Regions from separate parts of the Homo sapiens genome. Here all the other regions are linked to region 6. Evidence: promoter capture Hi-C in 16 types of primary human blood cells and fetal thymus (Javierre and others, 2016). All regions are on one chromosome and are shown on one strand. Each heading gives the region's core, a stretch centred on a gene start or on the middle of the fragment in contact. The rest is flanking DNA. Distances are from core to core; before and after follow the strand shown.

Region 1 (2,700 bases), core at 158-2,657, 450 kb after region 6:
CTGTTCACCCTGTTCCCTTTCCTGTGCTCTGAGTCGTGCAGTCAGTCCTTCAAGGCCCATTGCAAGTCATATCTACAAAACAGGAGCCGCCTGGATCCGCCCACTACCCCCAGGACTTGTCTCACCTTCCTCTGATGGCCATGGTACTGAAAGCGTCTGCTCTCATCGTCCCCCTTTATAGTCTAAACATGTTTTCTGTCTGCTTCCACCGTCACTGAATTACTCATTTATTTGTTAATGTTTCATCTCTCCAACTGGACTGCCAGAAAGTTGAGATATGGGCCCAAATCTGATTAATGTTTGCAGTCCCCAAGCACAGTAGCTGTCATGTAAGTCAGTAGCCCATAAGGATGAATGAATGAGCCTCCCGCCTGATCTTTATGTACACTGGCATATGTATTGCCAGGCACTGAGACTGCAAGAATCTAAAGAGAGAAACTAAAGAACGTAAAGAGAGATGTTAAACTCTTAGAGTAAAATTGGGACAAATCAAATGTAATTGGATGAGATGAATCTTTTGTAGAAGTAACTCACTCGGTGGCAGAGGAATTTCTAGGATCATCCAAAACTTAGGGAGACCAGGGTATAGTCTCAGTAAGGTATATGTCTGGTTAGAACATATCTAAAATGTACCTAAGACTGATTTTCATGTGTCAATAAGGAACTGTAAAGTGAGAGACTTAGGGTCAGATAAGCTTGGAGACACCGCATACTGTATAGCAGTGATCACAGTGCGAGTTTACTTGCTAAACACTCCCAGGATTCTTGCGTTAAATGACTTGGTTTAATCAGCGTTTCTCTGATTTATATCCATAACACCCTTTTTGAGAATCCCATGTGCATTTTGTTGAAACCAGGGAGCATGCTTTTGGAAATGCTGCAGCAGAGGATGCAAAGAGCCTTTGGAGCGGGGAAGACTTCTGAGCATTCTTCCTTCCCTGCCAAGTGTGTTCTTTCTTGCTCTGGGGAGGGGGTGGGGCGGGGGAATGCTTCGAGCACAACTCCTTAGTTTTCTTGTTCCTTAGTTTATTTTTATCATAATTTGGCTTCACATGGAACGTTCCTGAGGAGGAAAATGTCCTGACCATGCCAAAGTAAGCATTTTCTGCTACTTTCTAATTGTGTTTTTCATTTTGGTCACATTTGGGTTTGCTGACCAAATGGACGATCCTGGACCTCTGAAGCTGGGGACCAGTGATAAATCCTCCGTGGTGAGCCTGTCACGGTCTCCTCACCTCTTGTCGATGCTGTTTTCACCTGCATCTTGACTCTGCTGCCCTTATATCTTATTTCTCCTTTCCCTGCCACCGTGGCACTGCTTTTTGGATTTAATCTCATCTCCCCTCTCTTTGAGTCCTCTGCCCGTCATGTGCTTCAGACTGGTTTCTTATCTGATGTCCCTCTCCCCCAGTATTTACAGTCTCTCTTCATTGCATGCCTGGGAGAGATTTCTGACAAGGAGCAAGTTGTTGTTAAATTATAGAAGAGAACTACTTTTTCTTTTTTTTTGAGGTAGTCTTATTCTGTCGCGCACGCTGGAGTGCAGTGGCATGATCCCAGCTCACTGCAACCTCTGTCTCCTGGGTTCAAGCGATTCTCCTGCCTCAGTCTCCTGAGTAACTGGGACTACAGGCGTGCGCCATCACAGCCGGCTAATTTTTGTATTTTTAGTAGAGATGCGGTTTCCCCATATTGGCCAGGCTGGTCTCGAACTCCTGACCTCAAGTGATCCTCCTGGCTCTGCCTCCCAAAGTGCTGGGATTACAGGCATGAGCCACCATGCCCAGCCAGAGAACTACTTTTAATTAAAGGAATTTTGGTTTAGCTGCAACCACTTTTAAATGTTGATGTTCTTTCCTTTTAGTCTATCTTTTGTAACCTAGAGGAGCTGTGTTTTCTTGATGATATGTTGTAGTTTAGCCAAAGACATTATTTATTTCCTGGAGAACTGGAGTACTTATCCAAGTTTGAATTTTTTTCCCATGTAGGGAAAATAATGAGGCACCTGCCTGGTATCCCAGTGTCTGGCAGTGATGTCAGCAAACATTTGGGGTGTAGTGTTCTATCAGCCAGCTTAGAGCTGGTTTTATTAGGTTGACTCTGAAGGTTATTAGTTGTCAAAGCTTTAAACAAAAGCTGTGTTATTAGAGTAGCAGTTGTTTTTCTACACGTATTTGACTAAAGCCATTCAGTGATCCAAGAAATGTTTGTTTTGATCCTATTTAAACCTGACGAGAACCTTCTGAAGTCCTGTGACAGAGAAACTGAGGCTTCAAGAGGGTTCATAGCTAATAATTGGCAGAGCCAGTGTTTGAACCCAGATGAGTTTGGTTTGTTGAGATACATTTATATCATCTGTAATTTTTCCTTCTTCCAGGTCAAAGAGTAAAATGAAGTACATTCTGGTTACTGGTGGTGTTATATCAGGAATTGGAAAAGGAATCATTGCCAGCAGTGTGGGCACAATACTCAAGTCATGTGGTTTACATGTAACTTCAATCAAAATTGACCCCTACATTAACATTGATGCAGGAACATTCTCTCCTTATGAGCATGGTAAGCACAGTGGATTTCTTCATAATAATTGCATGTGGCAGAACATGTCAGCACTTGGGAATTATGTGCACGGTTTGCATAACTTTTATTTTCTGCCTTCTAACAGGTCCCTTAATACAGCAGAATGATACTTTTCTCACCTAG
Region 2 (2,833 bases), core at 312-2,811, 450 kb before region 6:
ATATGTCCAAATACTTGATATGTCTAAATAAATTTTACATAATCTTTATATGTCCAATTCTTTCCCCCAACCATTAAAAAATGTTAAAAACATTCTTTTATGTTAGTGTTTGGTGTTACTCGTGGGTAGCACCAAAACGGGTAGCAGGATGGACTGGGCCTGTGGGCCACAATCGGCCAATCCCTGGTGGTGTGACATAACGTGATGAGTGTTTTAACAGAGGCTGATGATTCTAAAAAAGCGATCACATTCTGCTTGGAATGGGGATGGCATCCTTGCCTTGACAGACGAATAGAAATTGTCAGGTGGAGAAGCCAAGGAAGGGCATTCTAGAGACAGAAATATATGAACCAAGGCATACGAGAGAAAAAGCACAAGTAGTACAATATGGCTTGATCAAGAGTGTATGAAGCGTGCAGACAAGGCAGATTAGGCTGGAAAATGGGGTGAAGCCAGATCAAGGCAGACCTTGGAGGCCAAGCTTAGGAATTTATATATTTTGGGCTAGTGATTCTGAACATTTTTTGGGTCTCTGATCTCTGGAAAATGGATTAAAATTATAGATCCTTCCCCAGAGAATGTAATTACATAATTTTGCATAGAATTTTGGGGTTGGGGGATTGATTACAATCTTCAGTGTCCCATTTATGGACCTCAGGTGAAGAACTGTTTTATACAAAAGTTGGTGGAAGGGACTGAAGGTTTTTTCCCCAGCAGGCAGCTGTATTTTTTCATTTCATTTCAATTTCATTTTATGTTCTTTTTGAGACAGAGTCTCGCTCTGTCACCCAGGCTGGGGTGCAGTGGCACGATCTTGGCTCACTGCAAGCTCTGCCTCCTGGGTTCAAGTAATTCTCCTGCCTCAGCTTCCCAAGCAGCTGGGATTACAGATGGCTGTCACCATACCCGGCTAATTTCTTTTTGTATTTTGAGTAGCGATGGGGTTTCACCAAGTTGGCCAGGCTGGTCTTGAACTCCTGACCTCAGGTGATCCACCCGCCTTGGCCTCCCAGAGTGCTGGGATTACAGGCATGAGCCACCGTGCCCGGCCAGCAGCCCTATTTTAATGCCATTTACTCTCCTGGCATGTGGCCTAAGTAGTGTCTCACCTCCGAATCTACAGGGTCCACAATGGAATCATTGAGGAATTTCACCATCACAAACTTCTTCAGGGCCATCAGGTTTTTCTTGTAGGACTCATTGATACCCTGAAAGAAAGGCCAGCAACACCTAAGGTCATTACCATCAGACACCAGCAGAGGGAGTAAAGCCTTCCTGTTTTCTGGTCTCCCTGACCCTGTGCCACTGTGTTTCTTCCCCATGGGTATGGGCTGTTTTCCAGCTTCCTGACCAGGATATACCTGTACAGCTTTTTTTTTTCTTTTTTTCTAAAAAACAAAATATTTTATTTTAGATTCAGGGGGGTACATGTGTAGTTTTGTTATAAGGGTATATTGTGTGATGCTGAGGTTTGGGGTTCTGTTGATCCTTTCACCCAGATAGTGAACACAGTGCCCAACAGGAAGTTTTTCAGCCCTAGCCTCTCCCTCCCAGCTTTTGGAGTCTCCAGTGTCTATTGTTCCCATCTTTATATTCACGTGTACCCAATGTTTAGCTCCCACTTATAAGTGAGAACATGTGATATTTGGTCTTCTGTTTCTGTGTTCATTTGCTTAGGATAACGGCCTCCAGCTGCATCCATGTTGCTGCAAAGAACAGGATTTCATTCTTTTTTATGACTGTGTAATATTCCATGGTGTATATGTACCACATTTTCTCTATCCAGTCTACCGCTGATGGGCACCTAGGTTGATTTCATGTCTTTGCTATGGTGAACAGTGCTGCAATAAACACGAGTGCAAGTGTCTTTTTGGCAGGACAATTTGTTTTCCTTTGGGTATATACCCAGTCACGGGATTGCTTACACAGCCTTTTCTTTTCCTTTTTTTTTTTTTTTTTTTTTTGAGATGGAGTCTCGCTCTGTCACCGAGGCCAGAGTGCAGTGGCACCATCTCAGCTCACTGTAACCTCTGCCTCCCAGGTTCAAGCGATTCTCCTGCCTCAGCCTCCAGAGTAGCTGGGATTACAGGTGATCGCCACCACATCCAGCTAATTTTGTATTTTTAGTAGAGACAGGGTTTCACTATGCTGGCCAGGCTGGTCTCGAACTCCTGACCTCAAGTGATCTGCCCACCTCGGCCTCCCAAAGTGCTGGGATTACAGGCGTGAGCCACCACGCCCGGCCTTCTATAGGCTTTTCTTACCATCCTATCTGACTGACATGCCACTGAGCATGGCATACAGGTACAACTATGAGTTTACACCACACTCCATAGGTGTCCATCACATAGGTGAGAGGCTTCTAGTCAGAGAAAGCCAAGACAAAATAAGAAACTGCAAATTCTGGGTCGTTCTGCTATATACTATTCTGTGTTGTTTTTTGTTTGGTTTGTTTTTCCCTTCAAACTGTTTCAAAACAAAAAACCAAAAGACTCTCCAGATGAGTCAAATATAAACTGAGCCATCTAGTTTACCAGAACCTACCAAACCATGTTTGTGTCTGGGACATACTCAGTGCCTACTGTATCTCTCTTTTAGGTAAATCTCTAGAGAAAAATCCACCCCCAGACTGATCCATCAGGAAAGCTTCCCTCATTAAGACAGCAGCTGTGAATTTCCACCTCGCCCAGTCAGCAACCTGCCGAGCTTATCCTGTGTGTTTCAACACTAGGAGAGGGAAAGAACTTAAGGGAAGAAAGGCAAATGAATTTCAACCTCCCTAAAGGGAACTGAATCTCAAAGGCCCTGCCTCCCAAAAAAAACAGAACTTCTC
Region 3 (2,777 bases), core at 239-2,738, 400 kb before region 6:
GCAACATAGTGAGACCCTGCTCTAAAATAATAACAATAATCTTAAGTTATCTTACTTTTTTTTTGAGCAGAGTCTCACTCTGTTGCCCAGGCAGGAGTGCATTGGTGTGATCTCTGCTCACTGCAACCTCTGCCTCTCAGACTCAAGCGGACAGGTGTGGCAGCTTACACCTATAATCCCAGCACTTTGGAAGGCTGAGGTGGGAGAATTGCTTGAGGCCAGGAGTTGAGAACCAGTCTGGGCAACAAAGCAAGACCCTGTATCTACCCCTGCTCCCCGCCAAGAAAGAAAAAGCTGGGTATAGTGGCGCATGCCTGTAGTCTCAGCTACTCTGGAGGCTGAGATGGGAGGATTGCTTGAGCCAAAGAGTTTGAGGCTGTAATGAGCTACGATCACACCACTGCACTACAGGTTGGGTGACAGAGCAAGACCTGTCTCAACCAAAAACTGAAAACTAAAGTCAGAGATGGAGGATGTCAGGAGTGTAAGAGACTAATCCATGAATTTTCAAAAAGTCTTGTCTAGAGTTAAGAGTGTATTATTGGCCGAGGGCAGTGCCTCACACCTGTAATCCCAGCACTTTGGGAGGCTGAGGTGGGCAGATCATCTGTGGTCAGAAGTTTGAGACCAGTCTGGCCAACGTGGTGAAATCTTGCCTTTACTAAAAATACAAAAATTAGCCAGGTGTGGTGGCTTCATGCCTGTAATCCCAGCTACTCAGGAGGCTGAGGCAGGAGAATCGCTTGAACATGGGGAGCAGGAGTTGCAGTGAGCCGAGATCTCACCATTGCATTCCAGCCTGGGTGACAGAGCGAGACTCCATCTCAAAAAAAAAAAAAAAAGAAAGAAAGAAAGAAAGTGCTATTAGGTATAATTTACAATATATAATTTAGATTTTTAATAAATACTTGGTTTTAAAATGTCTTTTGGAAATTTGGGATAGATATTGAATAGTGAATGCCTATATGTTTTTAAAGGCTTTGGAAATAATCAAGTGTATTCATTCAACTTATTCAATAAATATTTATTGACAGCTACAGTATCCCAAGCACTGGGACAAGTCAGTGAGCAAAACAGATGAGGACCCTTGTGATGCTTGGGGAAGACAGACAACAGCAATAGACATGCTAAATAACCAAAGTAAGCAATAGATTCTAAGGCAATAAGTAACAGGGAATTTAAAAAAAGAAATAGAACAGGACAGGAAGGAGTGCTAGTGACTACAGGAATGTTGTAATTTTTTTTTTTTTTTGAGACAAAGTCTCTCTCTTGTTCCCCAGGCTGGAGTGCAATGGCGTGATCTCGGCTGCGCGATCTCAGCTCACCGCAACCTCTGCCTCCTGGGTTCAAGCAATTCTCCTGCCTCAGCCTCCCGAGTAGCTGGGATTACAGGTGCCTGCCACCACGCCCAGCTAATTTTTGTATGTTTTAGTAGAGACGGGGTTTCACCACGTTGGCCAGGCTGGTCTTGAACTCCTGACCTCAGGTGATCTGCCCACCTCGGCCTCCCAAAGTGCTGGGATTACAGGCGTGAGCCATCGCGCCCGGCCAGGAGTGTCGTAATTTTAAATAGGATGGTCAAGGTAGGTCTCATTGAGAAGGGACACTTGTTCGAAGACTTGAAAAAAGATAGGGGATTTAGCCATGTGGTCATTGGGGGAAGAGGCTCTTAAGCAAGAGGAATAACACATGCAAAGGCTCCAAGGAAAAAGTGAGCCTGGTGTGTTTGAGAAACAGCGACTAGGCCAGTGTGCCTGAAGGAGAGTGAGCAATAAGGGGAGTGGAGGGGGATGACAATAGAGGCAGCCAGAGCCAGAGTAGGTAGAGCTTTATAGGCCATTGTAAGGACCTTGCGTTTTCTCTAGATCAAGATGTCTCAGTCTCAGCACTATTGACGTTTTGATAGATAATCTTTTTTTGTAGAGGATTGCCTAGCTCAAAACATTGTAAAATATTAAGAAGGATTCTTGGGGCTGGGCCTGGTGGCTCATGCCTGTAATCCCAGCACTTTGGGAGGCTGAGGCAGGTGAATCATCTGAAGTGAGGAGTTTGAGACCAGCCTGGCCAACATGGTGAAACCCCGTCTCTACTAAAAATACAAAAATTAGCCAGACATGGTGGCACACACCTGTAATCCCAGCTACTCAGGTAGCTGAGGCACGAGAATTGCTGAAGCCTGGGAGGTGGAGGTTGCAGTGAGCCGAGATCACACCACTGCACTCCAGCCTGGGTGACAAGAGCAAGACTCTGACTCAAGAAAAAAAAAAAAAAAATGAAGCATCCTTGGCCTTTTCCTACTTGACGCTAGTAGTCCCCTGCCAGTGTGACAGCCAAAAATGTCTCCAGACATTGTTAAATTCCCCTAGAGAAAAATCCTCCTCTCCTCTGATCCTTGTCAAGAACAACTAGCCTACATAATATCAAAAGCCTTTGGAGAATTGTAAGTAAAGGAGTGACATCTGACATGCTTTAAAACAACTTTATTGATATATAATTATATACCATAAAATTCACCTACAGGGTAAAATCTGTGGGTTTTAGTATACATAGTTGGGCCGCCACCACCAGAATCTATTTTAGAATGCTGTAATCACTCCCAAAAGAATCTTGTACCCATTATCAGTCAGTCACTCCCCATTTCCATTCTTTTGAATGTAGATATCCAGTCGTACCAGCACCTTTTGTTGAAAAGACTATCTTTCTGATTGAATTGTTTTGGCACCCTTGTCAAAAATGAATTGGTCATAATAGGAGAATTTATTTTTGAACTCTCATTC
Region 4 (2,700 bases), core at 61-2,560, 470 kb before region 6:
AGATTGCTTTCTTTGAATTTTTGTATTTTAATAGTGCTTACAGTCTCATGTTTCTTAAATTCTTTTGACTGCGAATGACCCTTAGAAAGAAAGAACATATTCGTAACTGAGATAAAAGTTTCACAAGATGATATTTATACTACTTCTGCTGTACTTTTTTTTTTTTTAACTTTTTATTTGGAAATAACTTGAAGTTGGTGCACTGCACTCATACTTTTGTTCCATTAAGCTCACTAAATTGATTTAATTATTTATTAATGGGTCATGGTATCTGGCATTTGAGAGATAGCTTTAATCTAAAGGAGTAAATACCTTGAGAATTTTCAGCAGAAATTTAGGCCTTTGCCTTTACTCCTGTCTCCAATTTTTGAGAAAAGAAAGGTGTTTTTTTGGTTGCTGTTTGTTTTATTTTGCTGATGTGAAATAGGAAGGATTTTTCAGTGCACGGTATCACAATGCATGTGTAAGATGCTAACATGACTTCATGTAAGCTAGGTGATTATCCAATTAACTTCACTTCCAACTCTGGATATATATCCCTGATGAGTTCCAATAGGAACAGTAGTGTATGTAATTCTGCTCTCAGTCCCTGGAATCTGGAATACATGAGGAGGATAACATGAAGTGCCTGGGTTGCTATCAGAGTACATGGAAGTAGAGGTTTCAGGTTATTCTTATCAAGACTTCTCTAGTTATAATGTGTCATCAATAGCTGATTCTTCTTTCTGGCAGGCGGAGATGGTCCACACAGGTTTGAAGTTGGAGCGAGCTCTGTTGGTTACAGCTTCTCAGTGTCAACAGCCAGCAGAAGTAAGTTCACTACTAGCTGGTTTCATTTTGGTTTGATGCTCAGGACGAGTTGAGAGATTTATGTCAAGCTATTATAACATTTTAAAATAGACCTACTAGGCTTTTGATAATATATGTTCATACCAAGTCCCAGAGGTAGAGCCATACTTCAAGTGCCTTAATGGGAAGGTACTATTGGGTACTTAATGGTCTCTACTGGCTTTTTCTCTGTCATTTTGCATAGGACTGTGGTTATCCCTGGGACTTTGCTTGCCTGCCTCTTTGCTGAGTCCACATTCATCATAGTGTCTCCAAAGCCCTTTAAAGATGATTCTCTTGCTTCACTGTGGATGGGCTTTAGTAGTGCTCCTGTGGAGATCTTAAAACTCCTACAGTATTGCTTCTCTCCTCATCCTTCACTGGTTGGGAGACTCTCTCTTTAATTTTACTCCCACCTCAAAATTTTATGGTGCAAGATGTGAAAAGTTGAATTAGAGAAAATTTAGATTTCTCTTGGAGTCAAAGAATATAGGTTTCCTTCTTTTGCATTTGGTTTTCCTAGTTACAGAGGAATAATAAAGCAAGTTGTCCTAAATGCTGTATTAAAACCCTTGACCCTCAGCATGCCTAGATAATATAAAAATAGTGCAAGATAATGTCAAATATATTAGATTCTGGTTAAGTGTGCTGGCTCATTCCTGTAATCCCAGCACTTTGGGAGGCTGAGGCAGGAGGATCACTTGAGGCCAGGAGTTTGAGACCAGCCTGGGCAACATAGCAAGACCTCGTCTCTATTAAAAATTAAAAAAATAAAATAAATAAAAATAGCCAGGCAAGGTGGTGCATGCGTATAGTCCCAGCTACTTGAGAGGCTGAAATGGGAGGAAGATTTGGGCCTGAAAGTTTGAGGATGCAGTGAGCCATGAACACACCACTGCACTCCAGCCTGGGCGACAGAGCAAGACCTTCTCTCAAAAAACATTGTGTGTGTGTGTGTGTGTGTGTGTATAGATGCCATCTAATTCTAATATGTAGAATTAGATTTTAATTCTTAATCTGTCCTGAATGGTTAAGATCTGAGAATTGAGATGTTCAGGAAATGGAGCTTTGGAGGAAGGGTGCAAACACAAACAAAATTCATCCATTTTGCCAAGGTGCCTACTTGAATGCTAAGCCCCTAATTGTTTTTTATTTTATTTATGTTTAAAAAAAAATTTTTTTTTTGAGACAGGGTGTTGTTTTGTCACCCAGACTGGAGGGTAGTGGTGCAATCACAGCTCACTGAAGCCTTGACCTCCCAGGTGTAATGATCCTCCCACCTCAGCCTCCTGAGTAGCCTTGACTACAGTGTGCACCACCATGCCTGGCTTGCTTATTTACTTACTTATTTATTTATTTATTTCTGAGATGGAGTTTCTCTCTGTCGCCCAGGCTGGAGTGCAGTGGCAGGATCTCGGCTCACTGAAACCTCCACCTCCCAGGCTCAAGTGATTCTCCCACCTCAGCCTCCTGAATAGCTGGGACTACAGGCATGCGCCACCATGCCCAGCTGATTTTTGTATTTTTATAGAGATGGGGTTTCCCCATGTTGCCCAGGCTGATCTTAAACTCCTGGACTCAAGCGATCTGCCCACCTTGGCCTCCCAAAGTGCTGGGATTACAGGCGTGAGCCACCATGCCTGGCCCTAATTCTTTTTATTATTTGTAGAGACAAAGTTGTGCTGTGTTGTTCAGTCTGTCTTGAACTCCTGGTCTCAAGCAGTTCTCCTGCCTTGGCCTCCCAAAGTGCTGGGATTACAGGCGTGGGTCACCATGCCCAGACTAAGCCCCCTAATTGCATTTGATTCATCAGTTCTTTACAGCAGCTACTATATGGCTGGCAATGCATTGGGGGCTTTCATGATGATAAAA
Region 5 (2,700 bases), core at 128-2,627, 430 kb before region 6:
TGGGCAACAAGAGCAAAACTCTGTCTCAAAAAATAAGAATAAAAAATAAATAAAAAGAGAGTACAGCCCAGGCAGCATAGCAAGACCCCATCTCTACAAAAAAAAAATTTTTTTTTAATTAGCCAGGGGTGGTGGTATGTGCCTGTAATCCTAGCTACTGGGGAGGCTAAGGTGGGAGGATCACTTGAGCCCAGGAGTTCAAGGCTGCATTGAGCTATGATCTCGCCATTGCACTGAGCTATGATCTCGCTGTTGCCCTGGGCAACAGTGAGACCCTGTCTCTCTCAAAAAAGAAAAATGAGGTAAATTTACATAAAGTGACATGAAAAATGCCCTTAATATGTTGTAAAAGAAAAGTCGATTACAAACCCACGGTCTGTAATCTCTTCTATTCCATGCCATTGGGACTAGAGGTAAGTTGTTAGTTGAAAAGTCGATTAAAATGCAGAATCCACTGGGCGCACTTTGGGAGGCTGAGGCAGGTGGATCACCTGAGGTTGGGAGTTTGAGACCAGCCTGGCCAACATGATGAAACCCCATCTCTACTAAAAATACAAAAAATTAGCCGGGCATGGTGGTGGGTGCCTGTAATCCCAGCTACTCAGGAGGCTGAGACAGGAGAATCACTTGAACCCAGGAGGCAGAGGGTGCAGTGAGCCAAGATTGAGCTACTGCACTCCAGCCTGGGCAACAAGAGTGAAACTCTGTCTCAAAGAAAAAAAAATGCAGAATCATAAAGCATTATACAGTACAGTATACAGTTTTGTTTTAAGAAAAATAAGCTTATTGTATAAGCATTTTATTTTAACTTAAGACTTACAAATTGAAGTAGTTTCAGGATTTTTCTGTGAATATAGCCCGCTCAATGAAGTTTCCTGCCTTTAATGAACTATTTATAATTTCTTTAAAGGTTTCTTTAAACTGGAGCAATAACTGAAAGACACTTGTGAAGCAATCTGAATGCAATTTTTTTTTTTTTTTGAGACAGGGTCTTGTTCTGTCCCCCAGACTGGAGTGCAGTGGCGTGATCTTGGCTCACTGTAACCTCCACCTCCCGGGTTCAAGCGATTCTCGTGCCTCTGCCTCCCGAGTAGCTGGGATTACAGACACACCACCAACATGCCCCGCTAATTTTTTGTGTTTTTTGTAGAGACAGGGTTTCGCCATGTTGCCCAGGCTGGTCTCGAACTCCTGAGCTCAGGCAATCCGCCCCCCTCAGCCTCCCAAAGTTCTAGGATCACAGCTGTGAGCCATTGTGCCAGACCAACATTCTTTTTGTTTTTTATTTTTGATTCAGGGTCACATATGCAAGTTTGCTATATAGGTAAGTTGTATGTCAAGGAGGTTGGGTGTACGTTTTATTTTGTCACTGCCATAATGAACATAGTACCCAATAGGTAACTTTTCATTTCCACCCTCATGTAGGCCCCAGTGTCTGTTGTTCCCTTCTTTGTGTCCATCTGTACTTAATGTTTAGCTCCCACTTATAAGTGAGAACATGTGGTATTTGGTTTTGTTTTCCTGCATTAGTTTGCTTAGGATAATGACCTAAGCAGTTCCATCTATGTTGCTGCAAAGGACATTATCTCATTCCTTTTTTGGCTGTGTAGTATGCTATGGTGTATACCTACCACATTTTCTTTATCCAGTCTACTGTTGATGGATACTTAGGTTAATTCCATGTCTTTGCTATTATGAATAGTGCTATGATGACTTTTTTTTTTTTTTTTTTTTTTTGCGACAGGGTCTTGCTCTATTCCCCAAGTTGGACTGCAGTGACACAATCATAGCTTACTGCAGCCTGGAACTCCTGGGCTCAAGGGATCCTCCCGCCTCAGCCTCTCAAAGTGCTGGGATTACAGGTGTGAGCCACAGTGTTTGGATGTGAAATTATTCTAGATGGAAGACTTTCCACTCTCAGATTTCCGACCCAGAGTTACTTTAACAATTTTTTTTAACAACTTGCCTTTAACAAGCTTTTCCAATGCATTCAACTTAGTTTTCACAGAAACATCTCTTTTCTCTTTATGCTCATATTTCATGTTTTCAAAAATTTAACTAAATTATGATAGCAAATATCACCGATATATTAATAAATAAATAAAATAAGCCCAAAGGCATTTAGTAAGCAAGTAGCTCAATTGACAGGAACAGAACTACCCAAGAGTTCTGAAAAGCAGCCTCTAGCCATGTGGGCATGCTGTGGGCATAGGTAAGTAGGTAAGTACATTTTAGAACTGGGAGAGTAAGTTAAACAGGGCATAAGAAAATAACTATGTATTTATGTACATACATATATGATGGTTGTACAACTCTATAAATTTACTAAAAATCATTGGTTTGTACACATAAAATGGGTGACTTTTATGGCATGTGGAATATATTTCAATAAAGCTGTTCTTTTTTTAAAGAAGACATCTGTGTATTTATATATTTGTACATTATCACTGAAAGGTCAAAGCATTGCCAAGAAAAAAGAGGCTGGGTGCGGTGGCTCACGCCTGTAATCCCAGCACTTTGGGAGGCTGAGGCGGGTGGATCACGAGGTCAGGAGATCGAGACCATCCTGGCTAACACGGTGAAACCCCGTCTCTACTAAAAAATACAAAAAATTAGCCGGGCGTGGTGGCAGGCACCTGTAGTCCCAGCTACTCGGGAGGCTGAGGCAGGAGAATGGTGTGAGCCCGGGAGGCGGAGCTT
Region 6 (2,773 bases), core at 244-2,743:
CCCTTCTCTTCTCAAGGACATTCCTCCGAGTAACTAGCCTGTCTATCCTGAATTGTGTATTTCCCGCCTCTACTGGATCTTTTGTTTTATTTTATTAACTAATTCATTTATTTGAGACAGAGCCTCGCTCTGTCGCCCAGGCTGGAGTGCAGTGGTGTGATCTCGGCTCACTGCAACCTCTGCCTCCCGGGTTCAAGTGATTCTCCCGCCTCAGCCTCCCAGGTAGCTGGGTTTACAGGCGTCTGCCACCACGCCCGGCTAATTTTTGTATTTTTAGTAGAGACGGGGTTTCACCACGTTGGCCAGGCTGGTCTCCAACTCCTGACCTCAGGTGATCTGCCCACCTAAGCTTCCCAAAGTGCTGGGATTACAGGCGTGAGCCACTGCGCCCAGCCTAGATCCTTTTAATTAGTACATAAACTTACTATAATTTCTTCCATCTTTTTTATTTTATTTTTTTGAGACAGAGACTAGCTCTGTCGCCCATGCTGCAGTGCAGTGGCGGGATCACGGCTCACTGCAGTCTCTACTGTCTGGGCTCAAGCGATCCTCCCATCTCAGCCTCTCAAGTAGTTGGGACTTCAGGCGGGTGCCATGCCAGGCTAGTTTTTTATTTTTTGTAGAGATGAGGGTCTCACTATGTTGCCTAGGCAGTTTCAGACTCCTGGGCTCAACCAATCCTCCCACTTTGGCCTCCTGAAATGTTAGGATTACAGGCATAAGCCACCACACTCAGCCCCATCTTTGAATTAAAAAAAAAAAAAAAATTAGAACGTGGAAAAACGCAACAACAAAAGATTAACAAAATCCCTATCCCATGATAGCCTTATTTTTCTGCTCACCTTAAAAACAAAACTTCTTAAAAGTATTGCGTATATTTGCTTTCTCCATTTCCTCTCCTCCCATCCTTCCCTCCAACTCCTATCAAATTTTCATCAGACTTTATCAAACTTCCACCACTGCCAAAATGGCGTTTCAACATCACTGGTGACCATTGCTACAGTGGCCCATTCTTAATTCTCATTTTACTTGACCTATGAGCAACATTTGAGACAATGGGTCACTCCCTTCTTGAAACACTTCCTTCCCTTGGTTTTGCAGATCTAAACTCTCCTACTTTTCCATCTACTTCATGGATTATTCCTTCTCAGTCTTCTTTGTTGGATCCTCTTCACCTCTCCGACTTAACCTGGTGCATTGCTAGAAGAAACCCTGCTGAGTAAGAGCAAATTGTTTTTAGCATACCGCCGATTTTACTTTCCAGTATTTAAAAATGCTGTGTATCCTTTTAAATGAAAACGACTTAAAAAGCGTGGCTCTCAGGCTAGCAATAGAGATACCAACCCGGGAATCTCCGCACCACCCCCCAAGAGGAAGCAGCGTCTGACGTCTTCCGGAAACGAGCTCCACTGGCCTTATGGGAAATGTGGTCTCCGACGGATGGCCTACACCCGGGAGGAGTCCAGGAACTCTAGGTGGACAGTTACTTCCGCACACGCGTAGTAGGACGGTAGCCGGTATTCAATCTTCAAATCAGCGCCGCGGGAAGTGCGGGCGGGTGTTGCTCCCCTGTCTCTGGACGACGCTGTGACTGATCCCAGGCTTGGAGCCGGAGCTGCGAGCGAGGCAGTGAAAGGGTGGCAGGTATGGCTTTGCTGGACTCGGAGGACGTAAGAGAAAGGCGGGGACTGGCTTCTAGGTTTACCCTACCGAAGATAAAACTTTAGTCTCCAAGCGCAGTGACTTCAGGTTTGGATATGTGGGTCCTGTTCAACTCGAGTAGCTGAGAGAAAGCAAGAGTTGGGCTCCGACTGGCACTGGGTAGATGTCCAGGGCTCTGGTGGGACTGGGAGAGGCTCAATTTGCATTCCTGCTCTTGTAGGTCAAGGTCACTATGTAGGAGTCTGTTCATCTAACTGTACCTTTCCTGGTTCCAAGAGCATAGTTGGCCCGACTGGAGCCTGCGACAATTTTAAGCCGTGTCAAGGGATCCAGTGGAAACTGTAAGCTATTTCAAGGGATCCAGGAAGAAAGCATTCTTGAGAAACTGCTATGGATTAGAAGGGTATTCTCAGCAATCATTTGAAGTAAATGCTATTACCATTTTGCATATGAGTTAACTGAAGCTGAAAGGTGAAATTACTTGCCTGGACTCACACAGCTTAGTAAGTGGAAGAACTGAGATTCAAACTCAGATACATTTTCTCCAAATTTCTTTTTTTTTTTTTTTACAGTATAGCATTCCTGCATAAAACAGAGTTGGGTTTATTCTCCTGAAATGTTTGAGCAATGAATGCTGAGTAAATTTCGATTTGTAGTCATTTTGTAGAGTCTCTTGGTGTATCTGCAGATCTTCCAGTGCAGACTGTGTAAATGAAGATGTGAGTCCCCGGTTTGCCCATTATACCCTTTCTAGAGCCCCAGCAGTTCTAAGCTCATAGGAGATGGCGAGTTTCTACAGAGAGAAACATTTGGAGTTTAAACTGAAGGATCCAGCTTAACAAAAAAAAAATAAAAAAAAGTGTTCCTGGGTCCCTGAATCCAGCCTTCTCAAGAAAGCCCAACCTAATTTGCAATCTCTTATCCCAGCGTCAGAGTAGAAACCAGAGAATCACAGGAAGGAATCATTTTTAGACTTACGGAGCTTCAGAGACCAAGCTTTTAAGTGAGTCAACTCATTCATTATTTCTTCAGGATAAATTTCTGGGAGGAAAAAAAATAACTGTTTCAAGAGGAACCACTTGGTGCTAGATCAGTAGGACAGAAACATATA
Region 7 (2,700 bases), core at 187-2,686, 420 kb after region 6:
CTCCCAAAGTGCTGGGATTATACGCATGAGCCACCACACCCGGACAAGGCCTTTCTTCTGGCAGGCATTAATCAATTCCAGTGCAGGGGATACAGAGGAGAATAAAACAAGACGAAGTTCCTGGCCTCTGAGCTTATATTATGGTAGGAGAGAATGACAATAAACAAAATACTGTGTATTAAATACTGTTAAGCCAAGCTGTGCTAAATTGCATAGAGAAATTAAGCAGGGTAAAGGATAGAAGTTGATGGAGTGGTTCTATTTCAGGCAGTGTGGTTAAGAAAATACTCACTGATGGCCGGGCGCAGTGGCTCACACCTGTTATCCCAGCACTCTGGGAGGCCGACGCGGGTGGATCATGAGGTCAAGAGTTCGAGACCAGCCTGGGCAACATGGTGAAACCCTTTCTCTACTAAAAATACACAAATAAGCTGGGCATGGTGGCACACACCTGTAATCCCAGCTACTCAGGAGGCTGAGGCAGGAGAATCACATGAATCCCGGAGGTGGAGGTTGCAGTGAACCAAGATAGGGTCACTGCAATCTAGCCTGGGCGACAAATCGAGACTCGTCTAAAAAAAAAAAGGAAAAAAGAAAATACTCACTGATAAGGTGGCATTTGAGCAAAGACACAAACAAAGTGCAGATGTGAACCGTGCATGTGTCTGGGGGGAGGTATTCCTGCAGCGTGCAAAGTCCCTGTGATAGGAACGTGCTTAGCATGCTCTAGAAACTGCAAGTTGGCTGGTGTTTTAGGTCAGGCGATCTGGAAGCAGACTCTGAGAGGATTCCTGTATAAGTGATTGATTAGTGCTCCCTTAGGGGTAGGGTGGGGAATAACCAGCAAGGGTGTAGGGGAAGCAGGGCAGGGAAGAGGAGGAAGCCAAGCAAGCGTGTGATTTCATGCGAAATCCGGAGGAAGGTAGTCTCACCCTGATCCCACGGGGGTGGGGCGGGGTGGGGTAAGGTAGAGTCGGGTAGGAAGGGGAGCTCTGGCATATAAGTTACACCTCAGTGTTTGTTCCAACCTAAGGCAAGGTTGCTGAGACTTTCAAACTCTCCTCCCATTAACATCTGGCTAGGGTCATCCCAGGGAGCTTTTTCAAGTAAATTCTCAGGCACTTCCTCTGGGCAAAGTGGGCTCCAGTAGCGCCCTATCCAAAGAGCCATAGGTACTAGGTACTAGGTGTTGGGTACTAAGTACTAAATGTTAAGAGAAAAAGCTTAGCAAAGTTGGGGGCACACACAACATGAAGGAAAAGGGGATCTTAAAAGGATCTGGGTAAAATGCTAACAGTACCTGTGAAAGTCAGTGAGGTAGAAGAACAGAAGTCAGAGTAGAATCGTAAGAGAAGAGATAGTCAGCTGAGGCCAGATCAGGTAAATCAATATCTGATTTCACTCAAATAGGCAATGTGCTGAGCTAAAAAATCCACAGCTCTCCTTGCATCTAGGGGCGGCCAGTTCCACATACTCAAATGTCGATAAAAGTCAGCTGGAGGCACCTAAGAAAGCATTCATTTCCTGATAGAGGCACCACATTTTCTTCCTTGCCACTCCCTTCTTTTTGCCTGGAATGTGAACCCGAGGCTGGGGGTAAAGCAGTCATCTTGTAACCATGAGGTCACAGTGAGGCAAATGTGAGAGTAAAAGCTTTGTACTAAGCATGGTGGAGGGGCCTGAGACCCTGGTGATGTTGCAGAGAGGCTGCACTAGCCTGGGACGCCTGTCTCTAGACTTAATATCTTTTTTTGAAAGTTAACAAATCCCTATTCGATGAAGTCTGGCTTTCTGTTACATGCCAGTGGGCATCATCCCTAACCAATACTTCCTCCAAAGAGTTATAGATCTACACAGCCTCCTACATTCTGTGAGAGCACTTGTTCCCACTCAAATGCGCTGGACGTTATAAAGCTTTTTCCAGTTTGCCAATCTTCCACGTGACAAATCCTATCTTGTTTTCTTTCGGTTTTTGTTGTTTTGAGACGGCGTCTCACTCTGTTGCCCCGGCTGGAGTGCAATGGCGCGATCTCGGCTCACTGCAACCTCCGCCTCCCGGGTTCAAGCCATTCTCCTGCCTCAGCCTCTCAAATAGCTGGGATTACAGGCGCGCGCCACCACGCCCGGCTAATTGTTGTATTTTCAGTAGAGACGGGGTTTCACCATGTTGGTCAGGCTGGTCTCAAACTCCTGACCTCAGGTGTCACCACCCGCCTCGGCCTCCCAAAGTGCTGGGATTACAGGCATAAGCCACCACACCCGGCCTATCTTGTTTTATTGTGAATATGAGTTATGAGTGAGGTTGAGTATTTTTATATGTTTTTTGTGCATTTGTGTTTACGTGAAACTACATGTTTCTGTGCCTTGCCCACTTCCATTTGAAGGCCAAAAAAAAAAAAAAAAAAAAATCACAGCGGGCACTGGCATCTTAAGGGTTCTGAGAATTCCTGCAGCATGCAATGTGCATTTTAACTTTAGCATGGAATTCTCCAAAATTATTTGACCACATAACATATTTTGTCTTGGAAACCCTATTTCTATTAGTTAGGACTGAGCTTTCTAACTGGCATGCCATAAATGAGCCACAAGCATGTTGACCTATTCAACTACTCAAAATTTGACAAGAGCCAAAACATATTTGAACACTGTTAGATAGCTTCCTCTATGAACTTCCTGAATTAGGTAATAATTATTTTGGTG

The links. The method cuts DNA at HindIII sites, captures the fragments that hold promoters and counts their contacts. A CHiCAGO score of 5 or more calls a contact.
Region 1: a fragment that was not itself captured here is called in contact with the fragment with the promoter of ZNF684 in region 6 in 1 of 17 cell types (fetal thymus); the score reaches 5.7 in fetal thymus.
Region 2: a fragment that was not itself captured here is called in contact with the fragment with the promoter of ZNF684 in region 6 in 2 of 17 cell types (total B cells and naive CD4 T cells); the score reaches 5.2 in total B cells.
Region 3: a contact is called between a fragment that was not itself captured here and the fragment with the promoter of ZNF684 in region 6, in 1 of 17 cell types (megakaryocytes). The highest score is 5.7, in megakaryocytes.
Region 4: a fragment that was not itself captured here is called in contact with the fragment with the promoter of ZNF684 in region 6 in 1 of 17 cell types (naive CD8 T cells); the score reaches 7.5 in naive CD8 T cells.
Region 5: a contact is called between a fragment that was not itself captured here and the fragment with the promoter of ZNF684 in region 6, in 3 of 17 cell types (total CD8 T cells, naive CD8 T cells and total B cells). The highest score is 5.4, in total CD8 T cells.
Region 7: a fragment that was not itself captured here is called in contact with the fragment with the promoter of ZNF684 in region 6 in 2 of 17 cell types (endothelial precursors and megakaryocytes); the score reaches 5.6 in endothelial precursors.

The regions. Positions count from the first base shown.
Region 1 is chr1:40,980,901-40,983,600 of GRCh38, forward strand. CTPS1 (CTP synthase 1) reads left to right here. Exons shown (of 19, transcript NM_001905.4): 2 at 2,378-2,556. The coding sequence starts at 2,391. Among named protein-coding and RNA genes, the nearest start is that of CTPS1, 2.6 kb to the left of the region's middle. The HindIII fragment of the contact is 1,428 bases long and covers 694-2,121 here.
Region 2 is chr1:40,077,451-40,080,283 of GRCh38, forward strand. It overlaps PPT1 (palmitoyl-protein thioesterase 1), which reads right to left. Exons shown (of 9, transcript NM_000310.4): 7 at 1,110-1,208. Among named protein-coding and RNA genes, the nearest start is that of PPT1, 18 kb to the right of the region's middle. RefSeq lists a silencer at 1,304-1,353. The HindIII fragment of the contact is 2,165 bases long and covers 480-2,644 here.
Region 3 is chr1:40,127,769-40,130,545 of GRCh38, forward strand. No RefSeq gene overlaps it. Among named protein-coding and RNA genes, the nearest start is that of PPT1, 32 kb to the left of the region's middle. The HindIII fragment of the contact is 4,148 bases long and covers 1-2,777 here.
Region 4 is chr1:40,061,003-40,063,702 of GRCh38, forward strand. CAP1 (cyclase associated actin cytoskeleton regulatory protein 1) reads left to right here. Exons shown (of 13, transcript NM_006367.4): 4 at 733-810. Among named protein-coding and RNA genes, the nearest start is that of CAP1, 22 kb to the left of the region's middle. The HindIII fragment of the contact is 3,835 bases long and covers 1-2,700 here.
Region 5 is chr1:40,098,462-40,101,161 of GRCh38, forward strand. No RefSeq gene overlaps it. Among named protein-coding and RNA genes, the nearest start is that of PPT1, 2.6 kb to the left of the region's middle. The HindIII fragment of the contact is 1,194 bases long and covers 781-1,974 here.
Region 6 is chr1:40,530,144-40,532,916 of GRCh38, forward strand. ZNF684 (zinc finger protein 684) reads left to right here and starts at 1,494. Exons shown (of 5, transcript NM_152373.4): 1 at 1,494-1,644. It overlaps LOC124904149 (a long non-coding RNA gene), which reads right to left and starts at 1,403. Exons shown (of 2, transcript XR_007066022.1): 1 at 1,345-1,403; 2 at 435-1,212. RefSeq lists an enhancer at 1,294-1,588. The HindIII fragment of the contact is 2,309 bases long and covers 348-2,656 here.
Region 7 is chr1:40,953,940-40,956,639 of GRCh38, forward strand. No RefSeq gene overlaps it. Among named protein-coding and RNA genes, the nearest start is that of CTPS1, 24 kb to the right of the region's middle. The HindIII fragment of the contact is 430 bases long and covers 1,222-1,651 here.